2 separate regions of the Homo sapiens genome follow, and region 1 is linked to region 2. The links are contacts of gene promoters, found by promoter capture Hi-C in human tissues and cell types (Jung and others, 2019). All regions are on one chromosome and are shown on one strand. Each heading gives the region's core, a stretch centred on a gene start or on the middle of the fragment in contact. The rest is flanking DNA. Distances are from core to core; before and after follow the strand shown. Region 1 has its middle 330 kb from the start of OMA1. Region 2 holds the start of MYSM1 (Myb like, SWIRM and MPN domains 1).

What was found. The method cuts DNA at HindIII sites, captures the fragments that hold promoters and counts their contacts. A contact is called where the count stands out against the background at its distance.
Region 1: a fragment that was not itself captured here is called in contact with the fragment with the promoter of MYSM1 in region 2 in 1 of the 25 tissues and cell types used here (lymphoblastoid cells).

Annotation. Positions count from the first base shown.
Region 1 is chr1:58,212,700-58,215,399 of GRCh38, reverse strand. It overlaps a transcript of DAB1 not described here. Among named protein-coding and RNA genes, the nearest start is that of OMA1, 330 kb to the left of the region's middle. The HindIII fragment of the contact is 4,036 bases long and covers 1-2,700 here.
Region 2 is chr1:58,698,617-58,701,316 of GRCh38, reverse strand. MYSM1 (Myb like, SWIRM and MPN domains 1) reads left to right here and starts at 1,255. Exons shown (of 20, transcript NM_001085487.3): 1 at 1,255-1,332. The coding sequence starts at 1,265. RefSeq lists enhancers at 1,081-1,490, 1,701-1,760. The HindIII fragment of the contact is 3,101 bases long and covers 614-2,700 here.

The DNA of each region.
Region 1 (2,700 bases), core at 154-2,653, 490 kb after region 2:
CTATCATGGAGTGGACCAGAGATTGCCCAGGATTGAGGGCTGCCTTTTCCATAGCCATACCCTCAGGCATCTCTGAGGGAGGGAGGTCATTTGACTTGAGACCTGAATGACAAGAAGGAGCTAGCCTTGCAAGGATCTTGGGGAAGAATTTTAGGTAAATGGAATGGCAAAGACAGAGGCCCAGAGTTGCAAAAATATTTGAAGTGTGCAAGGGACACGTAGAAGATTGGGATGATTATAGCCTAGAGAACCAGTAAGAAGATGATAGAAGAGGGGGTCAAAGAAGTCAACCTTACAAAACATGCAGTTTTTATGCTAATGGTTTCAGTAAGGCCTATTTCTGCAGATGTATGGGCAAGGGGAAGACAGCATCTCTGCAAATGCCCTTTGATTCATTGACTTCTCTGATAGAGGCCCTCTGAAACCTGCCCATGCTGAAAATCCTATGCTGGAAGGAAAACCCCATCTCTGACTTTTTACCTCATGCGATTAGATTTTCCAGGATTGCTCACTCACTCTAGGTAGAGGCCAAAGAGCACCATGAGGCCACAGTGGCCTGCCCCAAGAGCAGTTACTTTAGATTTGCTTGTCTGGAAATGGTGATCTTAGTCAAAAGCTTAGCCTTGATCCAACATCAGACATAATCTCATTTGAAAAGAAATGTTGCAAAAATATTGTTTCTACAAGCCTACTGCTTCTGAAAGCTAGCAAGCTTGTAAACAAGAATTGAGAGGAGTAGAGAAACTAATCCATGTGTTTATTCATTATTTAACAAACCCTAATAGCTGTTACTGAGGTCACCCAGGATTTCTATGTTGCTCAATCCAGTGGCCACTTTTCAGAACTCATTTCACCAGATGTCCAAGCACAATTTTATATAGGGGACCACTCCCTCTTTCTTACTTTCTTTTGGCTTTTCTCTGCCACACTCTCCTGGTATGTGCAGCCTCCCTGGTTTATCTTTTTGAATCTCCTTTGTCAGCTTTTAGCTCCAAGTGCAGCCCGTAAGTACTGATATTCCTTCAGGTTTAAGCATAAGTCAGTCAGTGATAAGCAAAAGGTTTGAATAGGGTAATATGTGAGCACACAACAGGGGAACTTTGTTCAAATGGGGCTTCAGTGAGGCGTCTAGTTCAGAGGCTTCATGAAGAAGTTACCCAACTGAAAGAGGAGACAGAATAGTCCAAATAAAGACTTGGAGGCTTTAATGGCAGGGCATGGCATGTAGGATTTTGAGGTCACAGAGCCAGAAGTTTATGACAGGAGGCTGCAGAAAATAAGGGTGGAAAGGCAATCAGGAGCAGGTGGATGAAGATCTTTTTTCCCGTGTAACTATGTTGAGATATTGAAATGTTTTAACCTGGAGGGTGACATGTTTTGCATTTCAGAAGCAGTGTGAAAGATAGAGTTAAGTGGGCACAAGACTCAGGCAGGATTACAATTAAAAGCCCTTTGGAGTAATCCACGTAAGAGATGATATGGCTTGGCCTAAGGTTATGGCAAAGAAACAGAGAAGGGTGGATGGATTCCAGTGGGCAGGCATGGGAAACAAGTAGGAGGTGAAGTCATCAGACATAAATATTGTTGAATGAGGAGTACAGGTACTGAAGTCCCAATTTAGGAAAGCACAAAGTGGTAGACTACAGATCCAGACACTTCTGTAATTCAAGAAAGGAAGTTGGCTTTGTCCAAACTTATATAAGTGATATGGTTTGGCTATGTCCCTACCCAAATCTCACCTTGAATTGTAGTTCCCATAATCCCCAGGTGTTGTGGGAGGGACCCAGTGGGAGGTAATTAAATCATGGTGGTGGTTACCACCATGCTGTTCTCATGGTAGTGAGTGAGTTCTCACATGATCTGGTGGTTTTATAAGGGGCTCTTCCCGGCCTTCGCTCTGCACTTCTTGATGCCACCATATGAAGAAGGATGTGCCTGCCTTCCACTGTGATTGTAGGTTTCCTGAGGTCCCTCCCCTCAGCCATGCTGAACTGTGACTCAGTTCAACCTCTTTCCTTTATAAATTACCCTGTCTCGGGTATGTCTTTATTAGCAGCATAAGAACAGACTAATACAATGACCCTGCCTTTAATCTTAAGACTTAAAATCTCTCTTTATGAAATGTCTGGATTGGAATAGACCTCAAAGATTCTCAAAACCCCTCTTAGAGATGTGGAAACTGAGGCCAACAAAAGAATCAGTTGCCTGAAGCCATATAACTCTTCACTTTCATTCCTTATACCAAATTTGACCTTTGCAAATCAGATCACATTGACCTTTTCGGATTACTGTAGATTCTTCCTTTCTAACATCAAGTCCTTACCTTAAAATACTGATCTGAAAAACACAGCTGCAGTGTTACGTCTATTTTGTTTGTTTCTTTTTTGGAAGTTATTTTAGCTTTTTAAATGGGCTCTAAGAACCAGCATTCTGAGGCAGCAAAATACCAAGTAAGGGTTGAGGTTTTCTTAACTCTGTTGGATCTGGAACACTGATAACTCCACCCCCTCCACCAGCTCTGTTTGTCTTATTTAACTAAAAGTTTTTAACAACCAGCTGATGTGTTCCCAAATGGAACTTGAATCAGAGGAAATTAGAAATCATTCCAATAAAATGTACCCTGGTTCACTCCTTCTGTCTTCATGATGTTTTTCTCCTAATTAGGGGTGGGGTGATGGGAAAAATAAAAAGTCTTGAAGT
Region 2 (2,700 bases), core at 6-2,505:
GCCCAGCTAATTTTTGTATTTTTAGTAGAAACGGGGTTTCACCATGTTGGTCAGGCTGGTCTCGAACTCCTGACCTTGTGATCCGCCCTCCCTGGCCTCCCAAAGTGCTGGGATTACAGGTGTGAGCCACCGCATCTGGCTGTCAGTATCTAATTTCTTGAGAAACTATAAACTAGACAGAAGTGGTGTTTATCCTCCAATTTCTAACAACATGATTGTTACATGGTGAGCACTCAGTAGAGGGTCAACAAAGCCTGGATTCTACTCCTGGCTCTGTCTTTGAAGCTACCTGTCCTTGGACAGTCATTTCAGCTCTCCAGGCCTCAGTTACCTCACCTGTAAAGTATAACTGGTGATATTAGCTCTGCCTACCTCACTGGGACACTGTAAGGATTAATGGTCATGAGCGTGATTTTTAAATTGCAAAGACGTCTACAAAATAAATTACACAATCATAAGTTATATTCTTAAATATTTGTTGAATTTTAAAATAAAAGTTGTTCAGCACTTAGGTGAAATGCTGAACGACTTCACATAAGTGCTGCACGACCCTTTTCTTTAAAAAACAAAGAGAGAGACTTAAATAACCAGCAGGTATGCAACCTTCAGTTCACAAAGCGGGTCTAGCTTGACTTTTTCATCAGTCCAGAAAGATACTGCTGTTATCCCCATTTTATCAGTGAGAGCAGTGAGGTCCCAAAGAATGTGTGCAAGAACAGAAGCTCTTAGAAGCTCAGGAGGGCCCGGGCGCGGTGGCTCACGCCTGTAATCTCAGAGCTTTGGGAGGCCGAGGCGGGCGGATCACCTGAGGTCGGGAGGTCGGGAGTTCGAGACCAGCTGGGCAACATGGTGAAACCCTGTATCTACTAAAAATACAAAAATTAGCCGGGCGTGGTGGCGCATGCCTGTAATCCCAGCTACTTGGGAGGCTGAGGCAGGAGAATCGCTTGAACCCGGGAGGTGGAGGTTGCAGTGAGCTGAGATACGCGCCATTGCACCCAAGCCTGGGCAACAAGAGTGAAACTCCCTCTCAAAAAAAAAAAGCTCAGGCGTGGGCCACTTCCCAAGGTCTCTACATGTCAACAAGTTAGAAAGGACCAAGCCCCAGGCCTCTGGGGGCGCCTTTGCTCTGGAAACCCCGCCTCCCGGCACGGGAGGGGCCGGACGACGCTTCAATCCCGCCCCGTGACGCGTTAGGCCCTGCCCCCGGGCCATCTTCGTCTCGCGGGATCTCTCGGGAGGACGGACGGGGTCAGGTCCCATCATGGCGGCTGAAGAGGCGGATGTGGATATCGAAGGGGACGTGGTAGCGGCGGCGGGGGCACAGCCAGGGTGAGGCTTAGAGACCGGGTCTCTCTGGGGCGGAGAGGGGAGTGGATTGAAGGAGCGGGCCCTGGGAAAGCTGCAGGTCCGGCAAGGGAAAAGGGAACAGAAGACTGTCCCCTGGGCCAGGGTCTCTTGTTGGCCTGGGAGGCACCTCGCCCGCCGGCTTGTCCCAAGCCCAGCGGGCAGGGCGGTTACCTGGAGCTCAGGTACTCCTGGGTCGCTTTCACCTTTTGCCGGATGCTGTGAGGGCACCGATTTCGCCTACCACATTGCGTTTGATTTACATTTAGATTCCTTCTTCCGTTCCCTCCTTTTCAGGATCTCATCGACAGTAACTAGAACAAGAGCGGCTACGGACGAGACCTGAGGTCAGGGACTCTTGTTCTATGGCTTGCTAGCCGTGTGACCTTGGGCGAGTCGTTTCATCCCTTCTTCCACATGGGGATAGTTGTAAAACTTCCCGAGAAGCAGGTTGACTTAAATGGGCCAGGTTTTAGAGTTGGACAGTTCTGGGTTTTCCTTCTGCATTTGCTCGCCCTACCAGTTAATAGCAATGTGACCTTGGGCAAGACACTTAACTTGTCTGAGCCTCAGACTGCTCATATTTAAACTGGGAGTCATGATATGTAATTGGGAGGATCAAATGAAATGATTATGAGATATGCTTTAGCATACGGTAGGTGCCCTCTGAATGTATTCTTTACCATCCTGTTACCCTCGGGGACAGTACTGTGAGAATCCAGTAAGGGATCACATTTTTTAAAATACCTGTTCCAGCAGAACAAACAGCCCAGTGTGATTTGACACAGAACCTCCTTTGACTCCTTGCTTTCTGAATCAAAAATGAGTCTCCTTTTAGTCATGAAGAGTCCTAGACTAGCCAGGAATCAGAAAGCCTGAGTTCTAAAGTCAGCCAGCTATGTTGTTTATAATTATGTACAATTTCCTTAGAACTGTATTAGCTTGAACCATATGAAATTGCCAATATTTAGACCATTTTTGTTCTATAAAGCGGCAACTTCATGTAGTTCAGCCTAATATTAGGGCCTCTGTGAACAGGGGAGAAGTACTAACCCAGCGCTTGAGGCACTAAGATAGTGTGTTTAGAAGTGTATCATGAACTCTAAAGCCCTATAAAGACGTGAGGGGTGATTAAACTCATATGGTCATTGTCCCTCAAAGCTTTGCAGATGAGTAGGGAGCCCTTAATAACAATACTTGTTGACATTCATTTAGTGTTTAAATCTTGACCAAGTGCTTTTGCATGTTTGATTTAATTTACTTTTCGCAACAAGTTAATGAAATAGGTTGGCAGGGATACTTATCTGCAGTCTAGAAAGAAATGAGCTGGCCTTGGAAACACTGAAGATTGGT